Regions from separate parts of the Homo sapiens genome. Here region 2 is linked to region 1. Evidence: promoter capture Hi-C in human tissues and cell types (Jung and others, 2019). All regions are on one chromosome and are shown on one strand. Each heading gives the region's core, a stretch centred on a gene start or on the middle of the fragment in contact. The rest is flanking DNA. Distances are from core to core; before and after follow the strand shown.

Evidence for each region. The method cuts DNA at HindIII sites, captures the fragments that hold promoters and counts their contacts. A contact is called where the count stands out against the background at its distance.
Region 2: a fragment that was not itself captured here is called in contact with the fragment with the promoter of PCP2 in region 1 in 1 of the 25 tissues and cell types used here (lymphoblastoid cells).

What each region holds. Positions count from the first base shown.
Region 1 is chr19:7,631,001-7,636,280 of GRCh38, reverse strand. PCP2 (Purkinje cell protein 2) reads left to right here and starts at 2,562. Exons shown (of 4, transcript NM_174895.3): 1 at 2,562-2,874; 2 at 3,451-3,565; 3 at 3,764-3,888; 4 at 4,473-4,666. The coding sequence starts at 2,824. The coding sequence ends at 4,592. It overlaps PET100 (PET100 cytochrome c oxidase chaperone), which reads right to left. Exons shown (of 4, transcript NM_001171155.2): 4 at 4,325-4,808. The coding sequence ends at 4,725. It also overlaps a transcript of STXBP2 not described here. The HindIII fragment of the contact is 8,717 bases long and covers 1-3,470 here.
Region 2 is chr19:7,779,731-7,786,837 of GRCh38, reverse strand. It overlaps LOC105372263 (a long non-coding RNA gene), which reads right to left. Exons shown (of 5, transcript XR_001753858.2): 3 at 6,501-6,683; 4 at 6,230-6,296; 5 at 1,654-3,342. Among named protein-coding and RNA genes, the nearest start is that of CLEC4M, 20 kb to the right of the region's middle. The HindIII fragment of the contact is 6,477 bases long and covers 1-6,233 here.

The DNA.
Region 1 (5,280 bases), core at 1,313-3,812:
CGATTTAAGGTGCGAGGTATGTGTGCAAACAGACTCTTGCTGGTCTGAGCTGGTTCCTTCGCTCGGCCGTGTTGATGAAGGTACCAAGCCCCCTGCCACTTACATGGGACATAGGGAGTGAATCAGACCCGAAGGTCTGGGGGAGATAGGAAAGGATCCATGCTGCCCTAAAGGAAATAAACTAATGTGACAACAAGTGCCACAGAAGGTAGGGGTGGGAGGGGACTTTACTGAGGATGACCCCCGAGGGCCTCTCTGAAGAAGCAGCCTTTTGACATTATCCCTAAATGGATTCTAGAAGCAGCCACACAGCATGTCCAGGTAGAGAAGGGAGGAGCCCCGAGCTTAAGAAGGCTGGAGGGTGGGGGCAGCAGGGGCCAGACTTCTGTAGGACAAGGTCAGACTGACCCATCCCAGTGCCAGGATGCAGGACTTTCAGTGCTAAAAATAGGACAGTCACAGGCAAACCAGGACGGTTGGCAACCGTAGGTAGGAGTTTGAGCTATTTCTTCCTTTCCTTTCCTTTTCCCTTCCTTTCTTCCTTCTTCTCCCTCCTCCCCATTTTTGTTTGTTTTTGTTTTGTAAAGAGACGGGTCTCGCTCTGTTGCTCAGGCTGGAGGGCAGTGGCACGATCATAGCTCACTGCAGCCTCGACTTCCTGAGCTCAAGGGATTCTTCCACTTCGGCCACCCAAGTAGCTGGGACTACAGGTGCACGCCACCGTGCCCGGTTGATTTTGTTGTTGTTGTTAAGAGACAGGATCTCCCTATGTTGCCCAGGCTGGTATCAAACTCCTGGGCTCAAGGGATCCTCCTGCCTTGGCCTCCCAAAGTGTTAGGATTTTAGGTATGAGCCACCGCACCCTGCCCCTTCCTCCTTTTGTAACAGCTTTACTGAGATATAATTCACATACCATACAACTCGCTGACCTAAGGTGCGTAAGTCAATGGCTTTCAGTATTTTTGGAGTTGTGTGTCCATTACCACAATCCATTTTAGAACATTTCCACAACCCCTAGGTGTTTGGGTTTTGTCTTCTCAAGAGTTTTGAGCAGGGGAAGGCGGGGAACCCTCCAGATCCTGGGGGGATGGAAGCCAGGACCGCCTCCAGCTTCTCAGCCTGACCCCTTGGGGGGACAGAGAGCTGTTAGGGCCAGCCACCCCACCACTAACCCCCAAAAGATATGAAGTACTAATCCCCAATACCCCACAATAGGATCTTATTTGAAATGGGGTTAGTATAGATATTAGCAGTGAGCATGAGGTCACACTGGAGTAGAGTAGGCCCCTAATGCAATATCACTGGTGTCCTTGTAAGATAGTTATATGTCTGCCTGGTTCTGTGTAGGTGGTTGGGGGGGTGGGGAAATGGGTATATGAAGACTGGGACACAGAGGGAGAATGCCATGTGACCACGGAGGCAGGGAGTGAAGAGCTGCAGTGACAAGCCAAGGACATCAAGGACGGCAGGCCACTGCCAAAAGCCAGGGAGGGGCAAGGAGGGCTCCTGAGACCTGGTTTTCAGAGGGAGCACAGCTCTGCCAACACCTTCATTTCAGGCTGTGGCCTCTGGAACGTTGGCTCAATAAATTTGTTAAAAAAAAATTTTAAAGGCTCAGCATGGTGGCTCATGCCTGTAATCCCAGCACTTTGGGAGGCCCAGGCAGGAGGATCACATGAACCCAGGAGTTTGAGACTAGCCTGGGCAAAATAGTGAGACCTCATCTCTATATAAAAATATATAACAAAAGTCAACTTATGTGTTTTAAGCCATCTGGTCTATGACACTTTGTTCTGGCAGGCCTAGGAAAGGGATACACGTACTGAGGAGGGGGACACTTCATTGGCATAGAGGGAGAGAGTGTGAACTTGGCCTTTTGTGGAACAGAGGAGGCTCGGGCAGAGGTGGTGATAGTGCAGCCCATTCATTCTGAGATGAAACTTCCACTGGTTTCCGTAAAGGCGTCTTGGGGAGGGAAGGGAAGGGGATGGGGACCTCCCAGTGGTATCCCCTGCTTGGGCACTGAGGGAAAGCCACAGTGGCTCGGGGGAAAAGGCAGGGACGTCCTCTCCCCGCCTGCCTCTGTCCCCAGGGAGTCTCGCCTCCTGTTCCCACCTGGGGCTAGGGTGATAGAGGAGAGGAGATAGCTCAACCTGGCATTTAGGTGGTGTGGGAACAGGAGACCCCAGACTTTCTTGTTTTGGGGTCTGGGGCAGGCAACCAGGCTCCAGGGACAGTGAGTTGAAGGAAGGGTGGCTGGGAGACCCCTTGACTTGCTGCCAAGGAGACAGAGCTGGAGCTAGGGTGGCCGGTGGTGTCTGAGGCAGGTGCAGAGAGGGAGGGAGGGAAGGGGCCTTTGACTCCAACCTCCTTTTTCTGTACCGACTGCAGGTGGCAGCTGCCCTTTCAGGAGCCAGTGGGGGAACCTGGGTGGCTGGGTGGGGACACCTGCAAGTCCTCCCTAAGCCAGCTACCACCCTACACTGTTGGCCTCCCTTCTCCAACTGTGGGGATGCTGCTCAGGCCTTTTGTGACATCACACCTGAGAGTCCCTGGGGTCCAGTCATTGCTGCTGGGCACAGCGAGGTCCAAGCTCAGGTCGCCCTGCCCCCTACCCACCATGCCAGATCCAGCATCGTTGTGGGCAAACAATTATCTGGATGATCTTTATGGGGCTTAAGCTTGGGTGGGAGCAGATGGGGCATGAGCTGGGGATTTGGGGATGGGGGGAATCCACACCCCCACGTCCTGGACGTTTAAAAGGCCCTCTCTGGCACTGGGCCGGGGCAGAGGCCAGCAGAAAAGTGACTGGAGTCCAGGGACATGATGGATCAGGAGGAGAAGACGGAGGAAGGCTCAGGCCCCTGTGCCGAGGTGAGAGGGCCCTGCCCCCACCCCACCCCCAGCTCAAGGTCTCAGAGCCCATGATTGACAAGACTAGTTTGTAGGGCACCTAATTAACGAGTGAGTCTCCTAGGACCCCCTGACCCAGTTGTGGCTGTAGAAAGGGGCTGGTGGGCTTGGGGGTCTGAGTGCCAGGCCCCAGGGCAGAGGGCAGGGCTCTCCGTGTGGACCCCTATTGATGGGAGATGCTGGGACCTGGGGGTAGCTCCTGGGCCATGTTTCCCTGATTCGTGTCCCAGCTCCCAGGCCACACTCATCAGGCCCCAATCTAGGACGGCGGGACACGCATCGGAGCCTGTCCCTTGAAGCGGTACCACGTGAAGTGGCACTGCTGGCCAGGGCCCCTGGGGCGGGGGCCGGGATTGGGAAGGAGACTCATGTCTCATTCAGAACAGCTCTGCAGAGAGGATCGGCGGGGACCATGGTGAGAGCTGAGGAAGTGGGGACGGCAGGCCCCGGGGTCAGGGTGTGAGCAAGCTGGCTAGGAAGTTTGGGGAGGGGCCCCCAAGCTGAAGGGCCAACCAGACTGAGCGAGTCTGTCCCCAGGCGGGCTCCCCAGACCAGGAGGGCTTCTTCAATCTGCTGAGCCACGTGCAGGGCGACCGGATGGAGGGACAGCGCTGTTCACTGCAAGCCGGGCCGGGCCAGACCACCAAGAGCCGTGAGCATGGGCACGGGGGTGCTGTCCATGGGGCGTGAACGGGGTGGGAGTGCAGGGCAAGTGGTCATCTGGAGGGCCTGGGGGCACGGGATGTGGGAGGTGGTTGTGCACCCTGAAGCATCTGTGTGGGGGTGAAGGGGTAGGGTTGGGGGCCCCCACTCCGGCTGTGTCCTCCCAAGTCTGTGAACGTCCACGCAGAGAGCGACCCCACCCCCGAGATGGACAGCCTCATGGACATGCTGGCCAGTACCCAGGGCCGCCGCATGGATGACCAACGTGTGACAGTCAGCAGCCTGCCCGGCTTCCAGCCCGTGGGGTCCAAGGTAGGTGATGTTCTGGCGATGTCGAGGAGAAACCCGCCAGGCAGTGCTCTCCGATCCTGCCCTCCACCCCAGCCAGGAGGGAACAGGGCCTGCCCCATCTCTGTCCATCCGCTGCCCTGACTTCAGATGGGAGGACCAAGGCCCAGGCAGTGGCTAGAGGGGCCCAAGGTTATACAGGGGCCATGCTAGTGTAAGACCCATGGCTGGAACTTGTGGCTCCTGCCCCCAAGTCTGAAGGTTCTGGGGAGGCCAAAGGGAGAAAATAGGACCCCTTCCTAGGAAAGTATCCCAGGGAGGAAGTCACGTAAGCTCACACATAGGATATATACATCTGTATACTCACATCTGTTGACTTCACACATACACGAAGCTTGGGTTCTGATCAAGATCCCAGCGAGGGCCCCAAGACCTGCCACCTCACACTCAAATGCCACCCTAAATGGCAGATATTGAGGGTAAACATAGACCAGTGCTCACAATGAGGTGGGACACGGTGGCTACCTGCACCCTCTCTCCATTGTTCGCCACCTGTGGCCGGCACTGCCCTTGAGCCCTCCCCCTGGCTGACCCCTCTTCATCCACAGGACGGAGCACAGAAACGAGCTGGGACCCTCAGTCCCCAACCCCTGCTCACCCCTCAGGACCCGACCGCTCTCGGCTTCCGTCGGAACAGCAGCCCCCAGCCCCCGACACAAGCCCCCTGAGGGCCTGAGGCATCCTGGGTCTCACTCGGCCCCCAAAAACTGATAAAAGAATAAAACACTTAAATGAATAACAAGGAACTGAGTATATGTATATTTCATCAGGGGAGGGGCTAGGACTCCCACTTGGAGGCCTCAGGAGTTCTGCTGGGCGTCGCGAAGGAGCTTCTCCTCCCGCCGCTTCCGTAACCTCTCTTTGAATTCCTCTATCTCTTGAAGCTAGGGGTGGAGAAGCGGGTGGGACAGGAAGGGGGGAGGGGCACACACCTCAGAGCCGGGACCACCCCCCCCCGCCCACCTCTCCCACCACCCTGCCCCAGACCACGGCTTCAGGGTTCAGTGTCTTCACTGGAAGCCCCCTGCCAATTACAAAGGGGTCCGCGTGGGATCCGCTTCACTCTTCCAGGAGAAGGCAATAAGGAAACCATCTACTCCTCTGCTCTCGGTTCCTTACTCATGGCTGAGAGTAAAATGTTTCTTTTTGAGACAAAGTCTCACTCTATTGCCCAGGCTGGAGTGCAGTGGCGTGATCTTGGGCTCACTGCAACCTCCACCTCCTGGGTTCAAGTGATTCTTCTCCCTCAGCCTCCCAAGCAGCTGGAATTATAGGCGCCTGCCACCATGCCTGGCTAAGTTTTGTATTTCTGTAGACATGGGGTTTCGCCATGTTGGCCAGGCTGGTTTTGAACTC
Region 2 (7,107 bases), core at 1,746-4,245, 150 kb before region 1:
GGATTACAGGTGCGTGCCACCACGCTTGGCTAATTTTTGTATTTTTAGTAGAGATGGGGTTTCACCGTGTTGGACAGGCTGGTCTCGAATTCGTGACCTCAGATGATCCGCCTTCCTTGACCTCCCAAAGTGCTGGGATTACAGGTGTGAGCCACGGCGGCCAGCCTAGAAGCCCCAGTTTTCTTTTACCAACCCTGAAAAGAGTACAGTGACGGGGCTTCTCTCAAAGAAACACCGAGAAACAATGAAGTTACGCATGTCTACCCAGAACCATCTCAGGTTCATCAAAAACTCTCAATGTTCATGCATTCTTTCAACAAACATTGAATACCTGCCATGTGCCAGGTATTTTAAAATATTATAACCAGCCGGGCGCGGTGGCTGACGCCTGTAATCCCAGCACTTTGGGAGGCTGAGGTGGGCGGATCACGAGGTCAGGAGATCGAGACCATCCTGGCTAACAAGGTGAAACCCCGTCTCTACTAAAAATACAAAATATTAGCCGGGCATGGTGGCGGGCGACTGTAGTCCCAGCTACACGGGAAGCTGAGGCAGGAGAATGGCGTGAACCCGGGAGGCGGAGCTTGCAGTGAGCCAAGATCGCGCCACTGCACTCCAGCCTCGGGGACACAGCGAGACTCCACCTCAAAAAAAAAAAAATATTATCACCTACATAGAGGAATAAATGTAAAGATTGCAACTACGAAGAGCATTTGCACAGAGTGATTACATTACTAAAATTAATAGAAACAACAAACTAGAAAGTTAATGAAAAATAAAGCCTCTAAAATAGCAACTCAAATTATCGTGTATCTAAGAATCAATAAAGAATGCACCAGAGGCCAGGTGCGGTGGCTCATGCCTGTAATCCCGGCCTTTTGGGAGGCTGAGGCGGGTAGATCGCTTGGGCCCAAGAGTTCAAGACCAGCCTGGGCAACATGGTGAGGCCCTCCTCTCTACAAAAAATACAAAAATTAGTCAAATGTAGTGGCATGCGCCTGTAGTCCCAGCTACTCTGAAGACTGAGGTGGGAGGATCACTTGAGCCCAGGAGTTCGAGGCTCCAGGCTGTAGTGAGCTATGATAGTGCCACTGCACTCTAGCTGGGTAATAGAGGAAGACTGTAAAATAAAAATAAAAAAAATGCACAGGACATATCTGCAGAGAAAAAAATTTAAATTCAATTAGAGAATACTGTAAAAAGGATTTGGATAAAGATAGCTAATGTTTCCAGAGGTCAGAAGAATTAACATAAAAGGGCCAGCCAGGCGCAGTGGCCCACATGTGTAATCCCAGCACTTTGGGAGGCTGAGGCAGGTGGATCACCTGAGGTCAGGAGTTCGAGACCAGCCTGGCCAACATGGTGAAACCTCGTCTCTACTAAAAATACAAATTAGCCAGGCGTGGTGGGCGCCTGTAATCTCAGCTACCCTGGAGGCTGAGGCAGGAGAATTGCTTGAACCGGGAGGCAGAGGTTGGTTGCAGTGAGCTGAGATTGTGCCACTGCACTCCAGCCTGGGTGACAGAGCAAGACTCTGTCCCAAGAAACAAAACAAAAAACAAAACAAAACAAACAAAGAAACACCCACACACAAAAATCAATTGAAAAATGGGCCAGGGGAATGAAAAGGCAATTCATAGAAGAAGCCAAAGATTGAGCACATATTTCAGGAAAGTTTAATGTCTACTTAATTGTAGAAAAAATAATGAGGTACAACCTTATACCAATTAAAATGCAACCATTAAAAAGATGCATAGTATTAAGTGTTGGTGAAGATGTGAGGAAGTGGGAACTGTTGCTCACTGCTGGTGGAAGTATAAATTAGTTCAGTAATTTGGAAAACAGTCTGGAAGTATGTAGTGAAATACAGGTGGCATATACCCTCTGATATTTTAAAAAGAGATACTTTTTAGAGAAGGTTTCTCCAAGGGCATTTACAAGGATGTTCAACACAGTGTTGTTTACAGTAGCAGAGTTGGGGGTAACCTACAAGACCCTGAGCAGGCAAAGAGTAAGTAAAGTGTAGTGAGTACACACATGAAACAAATCGTAATCAACTAGTTGTACAGGCAGCAGCAGTCCAGATTCTTAGTAGCCTAGAGCTGGGAGAAGCAGAAATGATTTGATTCAATAACACACACACACACACACACACACACACATACACACACACTCCAAGTATGTATAAATATTAAGGATATGACTTCACTACTATGAAATCTATGCATGCAACAAAATTACACCTGTACCCCATAAATTTATAGCAATAAGAAAGGCAAATGTAAGCATATTTTCCTTAAAAAACTAATGTAAGGGCATGTATCAAACACATCAGAATGGATGTCTATGGTACAGAGGGAGGAGGAAGGGTTAAACATTAAAAGTTAGCAGTGCTTAGGAGACGCTGAAGGGTTAACAAAACTTAGCTTCCTAGACTCTTCTTTCTAGAAGTTCCCTTGTTCCCAAACCATCTGACTCATCTTGCTTTCATCATCAGAAACGGAGCGCTGAAAGCTGACTTAGCAGCAGGCTTAACCGTAGGGCAGGAACTTTTTGGAGGGCACGCCCTCTTCATTCTGAGGCTTTTAGGGACAGGTGCTCAAAGGGAGGAAATCAGAAAAACTGCAAGGATTGCACAATCTCTGTCCAGGGCAACCATAGGAATGTGTTCTGGGGAAAGGATTTAGATGGCAGTGTTTCATCAGACCTTATGGAGGAGATAGAGGCTCTGCTGGATACACCTGTGGCTGAAGCTGCCTTGGCGAGCCAGGGCGGAGCTGTCCAGCTTAGTGAGGAAGCCAGAAGGCTGCCCATCAATGTCCTGTGCCCAGACCTCGCTGCGGGGTAACTGAGAGCGGAAGAGAGGTCCTAGAAGGAGGCAGCAGACCTCCACATCTATCCCTGGCCCAGGACAAGGAAGGGAGGCCTGTTTCTCAGGCGAGTGGGGAACATGTAACCACGGAATTTGAAGACAATATGATGAGCTTGGGAAGTACAGGAGACTGTGAGGACCACTGGAGACACTGGCTGAGCCTGGAGGATCCGAGAGGGCTTCCTGGAGGAGGTGATGCTTGAGGAGGGAGTCAGAATTATTCCAGAGGAGATAAATAACATTAAAGAACGTTCTCAATACGGTATCAGCACATGCAAGAATAGAGGATAAGGGAACAGGTTGGAGAAGCTGAGACTAATTCAGGGGCAGTCATCTGGGGCTAGGGTGTCAGCTGGGTCACATCACACAAGGACCTGAAGAGCAGGGACAAGAGGTTTGGACAAATGTGGGAAGAAGGTGAAAGTCACAAGATTCAGCTCCAAGGCCATGACCACTCTGGTTTCCATTCTCTGCAGAGATGAGAGGGTTGCTGTAACCAGGGAAGCCAGCCCACTGCAAAGGGCATGTGGCACATTGGTTGTCGCTCTGAATTTTGGCTTTGCTTTTTTATTACGAAGCATGCAAAGAGGTTTGTAGAAACAAATATAAACGCTATGCCTTTCACTCGGCTTTTTCAAGTTTTGACATCTTCATGTATTTCAGATCACCTTAAAAGTAAAGCATCATTACGTAACAAATCATAACAAATAGAGTGGAGGTCCCTTGTACCCCACCCTGCTCCTATTCCCCTCCCCAAGGTAACTGCCCTCCCAAACTTGGTGTTTATCCTATTTAAAATAATTATGCATGTACCCAAGGACAATATTTTGGATTTTTTTTTTTTTGAGAAGAAGTCTCACTCTGTTACCCAGGCTGGAGTGCAGTGGTACGATCTCGGCTCATTGCAACGTCTGCCTCCCAGGTTCAAGCAATTCTTCTGTCTCAGCCTCCTGAATAGCTGGGACCACAGGCACACTCCCCCACACCTGGCTAATTTTTGTATTTTTAGTAGAGACGGGGTTTCACCATATTGGTCAGGCTGATCTTGAACTCCTGACCTCAGGTGATCCACCCACCTCAGCCTCCCAAAGTGTTGGGATTACAGGCATGAGCTGCCATGCCTGACCTATGCTGGTTTGTTTTGCACATCTGAAAACTTTACAGGAGTGTTACCACATGGTCTATATCCTTCCGTAACTTGTTTTTGTCCTCTCTACATTACATTTATGAGATATATCTATTCAATACCCATTATTCATTTAAAAATGAAGACAGGCACAAAAACTAAATGCTTAATAAAGAGAGAACAGAATAAAGCTTTCTTAATTTGAGAAGTGGTAATTTCTGGGATCCTACAGAAATATCTTACATAACACTAAAATATGAGAAACATTTTAGGTAAAATGAAGAACAAATAAAGATGTCCGTGGTTTAGTGGGTTGATTTATAGCTCCCAAAAAGACATGCTGAATGCCTAACCTCTGGTATCTGTGAATGTGACTTTTAAAATTGGGAAACACGGTCTTTTTTTTTTTTTTTTTTTTGAGATGGAGTTTCACTCTGTTGCCCAGGCTGGAGTGCAGTGGTAAGACCTCGGCTCGTTGCAACCTCTGCCTCCCGGGTTCAAGTGATTCTGCTGCCTCAGCCTCTTGAGTAGCTGGGATTACAGGTGTGTGTCACCACGCCCGGCTAATTTTGTATTTTTAGTAGAGACAAGGTTTCTCCATGTTGGTCAGGCTGGTCTCGAACTCCTGACCTTAGGTGATCCACCTGCCTCGGCCTCCCAAAGTGCTGGGATTACAGACGTGAGCCACTGTGCCCAGCCGAGAAATAGGGTCTTTGCTGATGTAACTACATTATGGTGAGGTCATGAGAGTGGTCCCTAATCCAGTATCACTATGTCCTTATATGAGGAGGAGAAAGGTACAGAGAGAAGATTATGTAAAACGGCAAGAGGGAAGAAAGCCACGTGACAAAAGAGGCAGAGAGTCGAGCAAAGGGTCTGCAAGCCAAGGAATGCCAAAGGTTGTCGGCAACTGTCACTGACCTTGATCCCTGTTGTAGTGAACAGAGGATGATAAATGCAGGAATAAAGATAAAGACAAAAAAGTATATTTGGAAAAAGGGGTCGGGGGCTTCTTGCTTCTACTGAACAAGGGCCCTGAGCTTTAAAGCCCTTCACATTTTATTGGGTAAATAAAAGTAAATAAAAGTCCTGGCGTTTTTTCCACTGAGGGGGGGGGTACTGCATTATAAGGTCCTCTCTGTCCTGAGATCTGGCGGCATTCTTTTTCAAAATGTCCAGTTTTTCCACAATTATAACATTTTCCCACTTGAGGGCTTAATCCTTGGCTCCTTTTAGATTTGTCAACTACTAAATCAGCCATTGCTTCCGCTAACATTGCAGAGCGATGAAGCTCAATTCCTACATCCTGACAAGCTCTGAGAAAATTTCCCAAGTTTTTAGTACACCTCACGGGTGCCAGTGCACGTTTACAATCTGCGTCTGCATTCTCAGAAGCTAAAGTTAAGGTTAGCGCCTCTGCGGCAGTGGCATGAGGAATCTGACACTTCACTGCCTCTCGTAATCTTGCAAGAAATTGTGCAGAGGGCTCCTGTGACCCTTCCATGAAAGGTAAAAAGGATTGTACTGGGACTCCCTCTTCAGGAATTGTGGCCCAGGCGCGTTTAGTTCCATTTGATGTTCCAGGTCTGAATAAGGGCCATTACCCAATAGCATATCCTCTGCGATGTCTCCGTGTCCAGCAGCACGATTCTGTCTAACCTGGTCTGTACACATTTCTTGCCCATTTAAATTCCATGTCAGATATGCACTAGCAGACAAGCAAGTTCGAGCCCAGTGTTTTACATCAAAGGGTAGAAGACGCATAGCACCAAATGCAGATTCTGGCAATCCTAAAGTGAATGGGCTCTGTACCCCGATATTAACTACACTGGTTTTTAATTCATTCAACAACTTAAACTCTAGTGGGGTGTGTTCATGAATAAACTGCTGTGGATTATTTGAATCGGGCCTTACGGAAATAGGAAAAGCACAAGGTCCTGAGGGCTCTCCAGCTATGGCAGCAGAGCGTAAAATTCTTTGTATTGGGGTCTCTATTCCTGCTACCGAAGGAGGCGGCACAGATGTTTCTGCAACTGGAGGAGGCAGTATAGGCCAATTTTTATCCTCCCTCTCCTGTTTTTTATTTTCAATTGAAGCTGTGGGTGGGACAACAGATTCTTTCAGATTTTTAGACTCAGCCTGCTGTCCCGCAGAATAATAAGGAGATAACGGCATAAGTACAGTACGAATTAGACTGCAAGTACAGAAAGCAGAAGAATCAACTTTAAGACCTTTTTGATGAGCATGTTTCAATCCTTCTCCCGCTCTGTTCCAGTTTTCCACATCAAGAGTGCCTGCCTGTGGAGACCATGGGTTATGCGTTAATAACCATTTGTGGCTTCTGCAGGAGGTTGGTTAGTATCTGCGAATTAACCTGAGCTCCAGACTGTCTCAACAGAACTTGAAGCAAGTGCACATGTTTTTCTTCAACAGACAAATTCTGCCGCATGTTACCCTGATTCAGAAAACTTCCCGTTCCCAGTACTTCTTTAGGGCACTGACCTTATATCCGCTGCTGGCAGGCTTGTCTCGGGGTCCCCATTCATCTTGTCGTTTTCGGTTCCTCTGCTCCAGCCGACCTTCTTCGTTCACGTCCTCCGGTCTCTGTGTTCAGAAGCCACTTTGCAACGTCCTCAAGTCCCTGTTCTGGGTCGCCACTTTGCCACGGATTCCATCCCTGTTGGACTGAACAAAGGATGATGAATGTGGGAATAAAGATAAAGACAAAAGAGTATATTTGGAAGAAGGGGTCGGGGGGCTCCTTGCTTCTTTCTAGTGAACAAGTACCTTGAGCTTTAGACCCCTTTGCATTTTATTGGGTAAAGGAGATGGGGGCGGGGGGTGGTTGTCAGTCAGCGGCTTGATTTACAGCAGGCTTGCAAGGCTGCATTCTTCGAGCAATAGGCTCTAGATGTCCCAGTAGATAACCCCAGTGAGCGTGGTGCCAGGGAGTGATTGCCCTCAGCAAACCTTCTGGCGGTAGGCGCAGTCGTGAGTTTGCCCACATCCTGCGTTCATGATAAACACTTTGCTGTTTGATCATACAGCTTCCAGTGGAATGCTGAGTTGGTCACGATCCCTTTGGCCTTTTCGGCTCCCAACAGGCAAT